3 separate regions of the Homo sapiens genome follow, and regions 1 and 3 are each linked to region 2. Evidence: promoter capture Hi-C in 16 types of primary human blood cells and fetal thymus (Javierre and others, 2016). All regions are on one chromosome and are shown on one strand. The core of a region is centred on a gene start or on the middle of the fragment in contact, and the rest is flanking DNA. Distances in the headings are between cores, read along the strand shown. Region 1 holds the start of ZDHHC17 (zDHHC palmitoyltransferase 17). Region 2 holds the start of CCDC59 (coiled-coil domain containing 59). Region 3 overlaps TMTC3 (transmembrane O-mannosyltransferase targeting cadherins 3).

Region 1 (3,093 bases), core at 371-2,870, 5.6 Mb after region 2:
GGAGAAACCCCGTCTCAAAAAAATAAACTGGATAAACACTTAAGTGTTTGAAATACTTTCACGAATACTTTCACAGGAACAGATGAATAGAAATCACTTAGCAACATTTTCAAGGCAACATCTGAAAACTACTTTGTCTATTTCCTGACGTATGTTAGGGCCTAAGTGAACCAAAAGAGATGTCTACAATGCCAGTTCTGAAAATGTTACCACTTTGGTCAGACAAGTGTTTAGTCTTACTGTATAGTTCTGTTTATCAGAAACCCAGAGTAGCCTTTTCTACTGAGACTGGCACAGGTATATATTCCGAAGGAACTGTCCCATGTGTTTTTGATAAACCAAAGTGACGAATGAGAGGGTGGTTGAGTGTTAACATGCAACATAAAAGGATGGTTGTCATTATTCACTTTTTAACAAAAACTAGTGGCATGGTACAAACCCAAATCCAGAAAAAAACAGAATCACTCCATTGCAAAGTAACCAGGTAGAGACTTCCATGTTTGTTCATCCTACAACACGACTGTCATCTTTTAACCTCATGAAAACTACCCGAGTTCTTCAGCAAACTGTGCCGCTGCCGCATACAGACATCACTGTGGATCACTAAAAATCAGAATGCATCAAGAATTGCTTCCAAGCCTTAACTAGCACTAGCTCAGCTACAAACTCGGAGGTAAACAAGCACAGACTGACTGACTGTGGAGCGGGGCACTGTTTACTTACATGGGAAGACACTCATGTTGTGATGGGAAACGTGTTGCACTGTCCACCCCTAGCTCCTAGAAAAACGGTACTTTGACAAGCTAATGTGAGTGTAAGTCTATTCCCAAAAGTTTTTACCTCTCTTCTTAATCGCTTAAGGACAAATGCTCAAAAAAGGACGCCCGACACAAGGTGCCCGAGGTGCTACCCATGGCATTACCTGGAAGGACATCACTATGCCCATGAAACTGTCCCCTCACAGTGGACTAAAAGGAAGCAATAGATACCGTCATTCACCCTGGCGAAGGAAAAAGAAATCAAAACCAGACGCGCTTCCACCTGGCCCCAAGAGGCTTGGAGCAAGACTAGGGTCTAAGCTGCGGTTCAAAAACCACACCAGGCCCCTCCGCCTCTGCTCTCAAACGCAGCGCGGCGACACAGCAGAACCATCAACACCTCCACCTCTGTCCTCCAGGCACAGCCAGGGACTGCGTCCCAGAGCCCGCCCCGGTCGGGCCCGCCCCGCTATCTCCTCCCCCGTTATCCGCTCGCAGCCGCGCTCAGGCCTGGATTCGCCTCCCCACCCTCCCCAACTTCGGCACGTCCCACTACCCCACACACGTCGGCCGCCGCCCTCGGCGAGTCCGGGGAAGAAAGGCTGGAGGGCCGCAGGGCAAGGAATCCACTCAGCACGGTTCCTCACCTCTGGGTGGAGAAGGGGCACACAGCCCGCTTCGGTATCGTACTCATCCGGGCCGTCCGCCATCTTGGTGTTAAATCCCTCCTCCCGCTGCATGCTGGGAGAAAGCGTTTCACCCTCCCGGGGCTCGGGCGAGGCGGAGGGCGAGCGCGGGGCGAGCGCGAGCCCCGCCGGAGGCGACGCGGGCCTCCTCCTCCTTCTTCTCCTGCCCCCGTGACGCCCCCTCTGTCCCCTCCCCCCTCGGAGGGCGCGGGTTTCTCCGCGCGTGCGCGGAAGCGCGGCCCGGCCCCAGACTGGATCGCGCTCTGCTGCACTGCGCTGGGGACGGCGGAGGGCTCTGGGCGTGGGCCCCGCGGCTCGGGGGCGGGTCCCGGCTGGAGGTAGATGTGAAGCTCTGGCTGCCCGGGGGAGGCGGCCGGGCGGTTGAGACAGTCGCTTGGGAAACCTAGCAGCTGCTCAGGAGCGAGAACAGAGCTCCGGAGCCGCACGCAGCACAAGTCTGGAGCCCCAGGCAGCCGAGGAGCCCACGCCCACGCGCTCCCACTTCCGCTCCGGGACCCCCGGGACCCCTCTTCAGGAACTCGGGCAGAGTCGTCAGCCAGCTCCAGGGAGGTTTGGGCCCGTCAGGCTTGAGTCGAGACCTGCATCATTCCTGAAGACAAAAGCAGCTTCCCTTTCCTCCACACTTGAAAAGGTCACCCGCAACCTGTCCCTCCGGGGGACGCCCGGAAAAACATGGATACAACTCGGGACTTCCTACTAGAGAACCCTTTTTTTTTTTTTTTTTTTTTTTTTTTTTTTTTTAATGAGACAGAGTTTTGCTCTTGCCGCCCAGGCGGGAGTGCAATGGCGCGATCTCAGCTCACTGCAACCTCTGCCTCCCGGTTCAAGCGATTCTCCTGCCTCAGCCTCCCGAGTAGCTGGAATTACAGGTGCACGCCACCACGCCCGGCTAATTTTTGTATTTTTAGTAGAGACGGGTTTTCACCATGTTGGCCAGGCTAGTCTCGAACTCCTGACCTTAAGCGATCCGCCCGCCTCGGCCTCCCAAAGTGCTGGGATTACAGGCTTGAGTCACCACACCCTGCCGAGAACTCTTTTTAAAATGATCCCAACCTGCTCTCAATCGTCTTGAATTAGTACCACACAAAAAATTTACGAGCTCAAAGCCCACACACCGCCATCTGCAACATTTCGATATAATCCAGGAATTCAGAACTGAAGCCACTTAAACTGAATTCGCTTAAATGCAAGGCAGATAAAATGACTAAAGCCATTTTTTAAAGGATTTTAGGGCGGTATGGGGGAGGTGCTCCCTGTAAATGGGCTGATGGGACAGTTTTAGATAGCATTTGTCTTTCCTTTTAGCTGTTAAAAATTGTAAGTCTAAACAGCTGAGAATTTAGCAGAGATCATGAAAGTTGACCTATTAGAGATCCTGGTACTTACTAATCTGTCTCCTGTTAGGCCAGAAACCACCAGGAAAAAGCCTGTACTCCGATAACGTCAGGCCAATTTGTAAATCAGGAGGGAGGGCACTCCAAAGGAAGCTTGGAATGCCACTGGAAAAGGAAAGAGGAAGCCTCCTTTGTAAGATTAGTTTCCCGCCAAAGGAGTCTGAGGAGGGTCTAAGGAGAGCCAGAATCAGTTCTGCATGGGACGCCGTTTCCGTGGCGGCATGAAGAAAAGCT
Region 2 (3,505 bases), core at 834-3,333:
TACAGCACTAAAAAAGTTTCAAATCAGATGACCCAGGTTTGAGAATCTTCCATTATCAGCTATATCCCTTGCAAATTAACTCCTCAAGTTATAATTCCACAAATCGACAATAACAGAACCTATCTTGCAAGGCTGATGTAAAGATTAAAAGAGAAAATACACATGAAGACACTTAGCACACTACAGGGTATATAGTAAATATCAAATAATCCAATTATTATTAGAATATGTAAGACAATCTGACTCTACCATTGTCTGGAGACCAGGCTAAACACGTATTAAAGTCTTACACTCTAAACTTGAGAGTAGTTTCATTTTATTTATTTAAAACTAACATGAGTAACTCATTAATTCCTCCATTCAACAAATATTCATCCAGTATCTAATGTATGCCAAGTATTTTACCAAGTGCTGGGAATACATCAGTTGACAAGTCAGACAAAGACTCTGCTCTTTTGGAGTTTAAGTAAAATTGTCATATCATAAGTGCCATATATTTATTATGAGAGCAAACTGAAGAAGTGCCTAACTTTTCAATAACAATTACTTAAAAAAACAACAACAGTATTTACCAAGTGCTATTATAAGAGGTCCCTCTAGTGATGCTTTGCATTCAGAGAATGCTCAATGAATAAAGTTCACTAGTAAGGGTAACTTTGGGAAGTCTAGAAGGAAAGTAAAAATCCCAGAAGCCTGTTGGTGTCCATCATTCTACTTCCAAAATATGCTTGCCTGAGAAGAATCTACATTTCTTGAGGGTAGGAAAAGCTTGAGCCTACAAAAATTCAAGACACATATTAGGTACTTTAAAATAGTTTTTAAATGAAATAGTGACTATCCGAATACCATCCTAGTCCAAGATACAATCATCTGTTGTACTACTGAGGTAGTCTCCTAACTGGCCTCTCAGCTTCAGCTTTTGCCCTAGTCTATTCTTCAAATAATTCACAGTTATCTTTTCAAATGTGAATTAGGTCACTATGTTGCCTAAATAATCCCAAGGGTTTCCGTCACACTTAAAATCCAAAATCCTTCCAAGGCCTAGAAAGGCCTGTGCCATCTGGCCTCTGCTTGCCTCCCGTCCTGCACCTGCAGCCCCTCACCTGGCTAGAGCCAAGCCTAGCCTGCGGTTCCCACCGCCTGCAACCCCTCCCTGTGGCTCTGCAGCTAGTGCCTTCTCATGTTCCTGACCTCCTAAATTGAGGCAGCCTCCTTACACAATCCCTACCACATTACACTGTTTTTATTTTCTACTTCATTACCACCACTTGAAATTATCTTTATTAACTGTTGAGTAATCTTCCACCACATGCTGGCATTTATAAAACCTGTGAGAGCACTGCTCCCCTAGTTTCCCTAGCGTCAATTATTATGGAATTACTAGATGAAGGAACTCCCCTGCCCTGTTTCCTGCTTTCTTTAAATTGTGGACATACACAAGCACCCAAAGAAAGAGTGATCCTGATTCCAAAGAACATCCCCACCCCACCCCTCAACTAATCCGACCCCTCCTCGGTTTCCCAGCGGGCCGCCCCGCCTCCGCCGCCACGCACCTGGTTCTGCTGGCTTCCACCAGGGGGCTCGCTTCGTCTGCCGGGACCTTCTCCTCCGCCTCCCTTCCCGCCCCGCCTACCCCACCACCCACCTGCTTCCCACTCTGCTTCCACTAGGGGGCGCGTCTCTGAGGGCAGGGCCTCCGTCTCCGACGCTGACTTCCTCAGCGCAGCCAGCACTGTCTCCGGTGGCAAGTCGACCAGCTCCTCCCACACGGATTCTGTGTAGAAATCCACGGTATGTGCATTGGAAATGGACAGGGCATCCCTCAGGAACTGCAGCAGTCCCTGCAACTTGGCACGCAGCGTGGGCAGGTCCGGGGTCACCGGGAGAGGGCAAGAAGCCGCCATGACGCTCACCCTCCGAGGCTGTAGGTGGCGCAAACATGGCCGTGAGGCGCCAGCTCGGCCCAAATTAGCACAGGCAGGCTCAGTAGAGCTCCGAGCCGGATTCCTTCTGAGCGATTGATTGCTTCGGCTTGGTGACGTATTTTGTGGGCGTCCGTCGTGGTCTTCTGATGACGCAGTTAGTCGGCTGCAATGGCGCCGGTGAGGCGGTCCGCGAAGTGGCGGCCTGGTGGTATTGAGGCGCGTGGTGAAGGGGTTTCCACTGTCGGGTACAGGAATAAGAATGTGAGACAGAAGACATGGCGGCCTAACCACCCGCAAGCCTTCGTGGGGAGCGTTCGCGAGGGTATGTAAGAAGGCAACCATTTGCAAATCCTCAGGCTTGCTAAGTTTTAGGATATAAGATTCGCTGAAGCTTGGAAGAAGGATTTAGGAACCAGACCCGGTCCTACTTGGGGCAAGGGAATTCATTCCTGAGCCCGCTAAAGCTGTGAGCTTCGCAGAGCTCTAGATAGGAAGACGGAGCAGTGTTGCTATTATTTAAACGTCTTTTCTGACGTAACCCTGTATTTCATCAGAACTTTTTTCCTATATTTTTCCTGAGAAACTGAGCAGAGAGAGTCTATGACCCTGTGAACTCTTGCGCATGTGGTAAGGTAAAGGATAGAGAGGAGGACAGGGCCAGAAACACTGCTCCGAATTCTTCCTTATTACAAATACCCGAGGCCCTCCAGCCTTCGCTTTAATTTGTGTTTGTCATTTTGTATTGCTGTCTGTAAGGTCTCTTAGATCCCACTTGGAATATATAAATGTTAAATTCAGTCTTCCGATAATTGCTAGCTTTTCAGACAACCATACACTGTCTTTTTCTTTCGTGTTGAAACATTTTCGAAAACATGTAGTTTGTCCAAGATACTAGATGTGGCATTTTCTTTCCTATTTTTTAAGCATTTATTGAAGGCTCAGATTAAGTGTTTTAGATGAACTAAGGAATTTGTTTTGATTTGTGAATACAGCTGTAAACTCAAGTTGTGCAACAGTCTGAACTGGTCAGTTTTTCTTTGAGATTCTTACTTGGATTTCCGCATGACTGTTAGCCTGGTCTTTTTGCAAAGGGCCAACTTACTATGCAATCCATCAGCTTAAATTTGTTGCTTGAAATAATTTTTTAAAGCAAAATATAATACTAGAATCTGAATGTGATGACGTAAAAAAAGTTTTCATTTGTAATTAACAGCTCCATTCTTCGTTCAACTTCTTTTCTCTGAAAGTAATTTTGGATGATATTCCTCAATGTAGGACAAGGCTTTGCTTTTCGAAGAAAACTGAAAATACAGCAAAGTTACAAGAAATTGCTACGGAAGGAAAAGAAGGCTCAAACGTCACTGGAATCTCAATTCACAGATCGATACCCAGATAATCTGAAACATCTCTATTTAGCTGAAGAGGAAAGACATAGGAAGCAAGCAAGAAAAGTCGACCATCCTTTGTCAGAACAAGTTCACCAGCCGTTGCTTGAAGAACAGTGTAGCATTGACGAGCCTTTATTTGAAGATCAGTGTAGCTTTGACCAGCCTCAGCCAGAAGAACAATGTATTAAAACA
Region 3 (3,072 bases), core at 36-2,535, 5.8 Mb before region 2:
AGAGCTGGCTGTTCAAAACTGTGTAGCACCTCCCACCGTACTCCTCTTGCTCCTGCTTTTGCTATGTGAAGTGCCTGCTCCTGCTTCCCCTTCTGCCATGACTGCAAGCTTCTTGAGGCCTCCCCAGAAGCAGATGCTGCTATGCTTCTTGTACAGCTGACAGAACTGTGAGCCAATAAAACCTCTTTTCTTATATATTACCCTGTCTCAGGTATTTCTTCGTAGCAATACAAGAATAGCCTAATCTAGAAAATGAGACCATTTAATATGGCCAGCTAAACCATCAGTTCAAAACCTCAACATTATGATTAAAATCATAACAGATACTAGCATAAATTGAGGGAATGGACACATAGTTCTGAGGGTCTCTGGAGATCAAAGGTAGGTATAGAGGAGGACAAGCTGTGTAGAATAATGTATAATAGGGCCATATTTTCCCCCTTACTATCAAAAGATTTTTTTTCAAAAGCTAGAATTGGGTGAGAACAAAAAGGCGAATAAAGTCTTCTTACTAAATAAGACAAAATAATTATATGTGCTTGTGATCAGAGGAATGAAAGATTCCATCCCTAACCTTGAGAGGCTTCCAAATTTGGGGAATGGGGAAAGAGGCCACAATGACCGAGAAACATACTGTTAACATTGCAGAGAGTTACATGTTATGTTTCAACAATTTATTCAATATCTATGTGCCAGGTAGTGTAGATAAAATAATTCATTTATTACTTGAGACCTTAAATGACTTATGTTTTTATTCTACTTTTCCACCTGGGAAATTTAGGTTTATTAATATAGAATTTTAGTTTAGAAATCAATATCCCCCAGAAATTTGAAGCATTACTCTCTTTTTTATTTTGGAAAGGAATTATCCTCTTTTACAGATCAGGAAAATTACTTTCCATCTGAAAGATGTATTCTCACCTATTTCACACAGTTAATATATGACATAACTAAAATTAGAATCCATTCTATATGATATCAAGCTGATAAGGGTTTAATCCCAACAGTTTAACAGTGACCTTCAAAACAGTAAAAATACCCTCATAAAAATGAACCATATGGATGAATAAAATATTAAATTATTGAACTAAACTTTTGGGTTCTCGATATATAACCTAAATAACTATTATGTAAGAGATAGGACAAAGATTCAAAATTTGTAATAACCACTTCTTCTGCAAGAGAAATTGGCAATATGTGTACTTACTATTTTTACTCTTAAATTCTTATCTATTTATATTGAAGTTGCCATATTTTAAAATGTTGAAATATATCACATCTCTTTTGCCTTACTCACAAGACAGAAAAAAGAGAAATAAAGTCAATTAGCAAGAAACAGGCATGTATTACACCTATTGCTCTCCCTATACATTTGGTTTTCACATAAATATATATTATTTTTAAGAAGTTAAGCCAAAACTACCTATTGGGTACTATACTCGCTGTCTGGGTGACAGATTGGTACCCCAAACATCAGCATAACGCAATATACCCACGTGACAAATCTGCATATGTAGCCCTGTATCTAAAATAAAAGTTAAAAAAAAAAAAGCAGCAGCCAAGGTACACAGGCAAAGAAATAACCAAGTACTGCTTTAAAGTACTCATCCTCAGCTTCCTGTTCAATTTATTACAAACATGTTACGTTTCATATAAACATTTTAGGGTTAAAAATCTGTAACTGTTGTGATGATAATGTTGATAAAGAATTAGAAGTAATAAAATACCAGAATATTTCAAAATCTGAGACATGTACAAGTAATATGTAAGTAATTACTTACCTCAGACATAGGGGTTCCCCAGAAGTCATTTTGAAATAAAGTTTTTAAAGGTGTAGATGGATGCAAGTCTTTGTTATCCAGTATTGCTGAAACATCATCAAAAACAAAACCACAAAAGAGGCTGTTCCAATAGCAGGCAGTAACCACACCTACTATTAAGGTTATTTCTTTTAGGTTAATATTAGCCATCTTTTCTATAAGCACTTCTGGACAAAAACTGGAAAAAAAATCATGAAGATAAAATAAGGAACATATTTATTCCAAGTAAGTTCAATTTTAGTAGGTGGGTAAGTAATTGCATATTAATTCTCCAGAGAAAAGCGCAGCTAAAATGCCATCCACTTCTAAGAAGCATAAGCTAGTCACATTGTTGAAACTCAGCCCCATCTCTTACTGGATAATGTCCCTGATAACGGGGACATTATGTCAGCCCCCTCTCTTACGGGATAAAGCCAAGTAACCTCTCCTATTCCAAGGCAGAAGACTGGAGGTTTCCTCTGTGGATTATTTAAAACATAGGGTCTCTGATAACAGGGAAAAGGCAGCATATTGAAAATAAAGGCTAAGTAAAAAAAAGTCTGTCCATATATTTTAGGTTGAGACCCTCCATCCCTTTTCTACTGGGCACAAAATTCTGTAAAACTTTACAACACTGAAAACAAATAGGATTCTAAAAGCTTCTGGAAATAAAAAAGGTTCCAGAGTAAGGATCAGGAATCAAAAATCTTTTTTTTTTCACCCAAAATGCTGTTAGAAACAAAACAAAACAAAAAATTCCCTTCCAAAATAAAAAAGGAGTAATGCTTCAAACTTCTGAGGCATATTGATTTCTAAACTAAAATTCTATATTAATAAACCTAAGTTTTCCAGGTGGGAAAGTAGAATAAAAACCTAAGTCATTAAAGGTCTCAAAAAATTTACCTCTGATGTTCCTTTTCAAGAAACTAGGAGAAAAGGTACACTAGTAAAATGAAACAGTATATTAAGAAACAAAGATACAGAAATCAGGAAATGGGATCCAATATAGGACAGCTATATATACATGTTGTAATTTAGAAAAACCGAATGAAACAACTCAGGATATCTACCTTTGGGTAGGTAAAAATCAAGTTTTGTGTACAGGTCAGAAACCTCTCTTCCCATAAATAACCTCAGGCCACTGGCTTGGTAACATCAATTCACTTGGGGTGACAAACTGTTGTTTGGTTAAATGTTCTAACCACAGGAAAGTTTAAAATTAATAGAAGAAAAAAGTAAATTAAACCTGTGGTTTCAGTGCTTTAAAGTTATA

Evidence for each region. Contacts are between HindIII fragments. The CHiCAGO score rates a contact against its expected background, and 5 or more counts as called.
Region 1: a contact is called between the fragment with the promoter of ZDHHC17 here and the fragment with the promoter of CCDC59 in region 2, in 9 of 17 cell types (non-activated CD4 T cells, total B cells, naive CD8 T cells and 6 more). The highest score is 15.7, in non-activated CD4 T cells.
Region 3: a contact is called between a fragment that was not itself captured here and the fragment with the promoter of CCDC59 in region 2, in 3 of 17 cell types (non-activated CD4 T cells, total CD8 T cells and total B cells). The highest score is 11.0, in non-activated CD4 T cells.

What each region holds. Positions count from the first base shown.
Region 1 is chr12:76,762,642-76,765,734 of GRCh38, reverse strand. It overlaps ZDHHC17 (zDHHC palmitoyltransferase 17), which reads right to left and starts at 1,620. Exons shown (of 17, transcript NM_015336.4): 1 at 1,406-1,620. The coding sequence starts at 1,498. RefSeq lists enhancers at 1,273-1,422, 614-1,456, 1,432-1,726, 2,023-2,122 and a silencer at 1,473-1,882. The HindIII fragment of the contact is 3,524 bases long and covers 1-2,954 here.
Region 2 is chr12:82,356,965-82,360,469 of GRCh38, reverse strand. CCDC59 (coiled-coil domain containing 59) reads left to right here and starts at 2,083. Exons shown (of 4, transcript NM_014167.5): 1 at 2,083-2,247; 2 at 3,201-3,505. The coding sequence starts at 2,094. It overlaps METTL25 (methyltransferase like 25), which reads right to left and starts at 1,941. Exons shown (of 12, transcript NM_032230.3): 1 at 1,646-1,941. The coding sequence starts at 1,904. RefSeq lists enhancers at 1,153-1,713, 1,644-2,203, 1,714-2,274. The HindIII fragment of the contact is 1,548 bases long and covers 771-2,318 here.
Region 3 is chr12:88,147,214-88,150,285 of GRCh38, reverse strand. It overlaps TMTC3 (transmembrane O-mannosyltransferase targeting cadherins 3), which reads right to left. Exons shown (of 14, transcript NM_181783.4): 2 at 1,782-1,998. The coding sequence starts at 1,970. Among named protein-coding and RNA genes, the nearest start is that of TMTC3, 6.4 kb to the right of the region's middle. The HindIII fragment of the contact is 2,350 bases long and covers 111-2,460 here.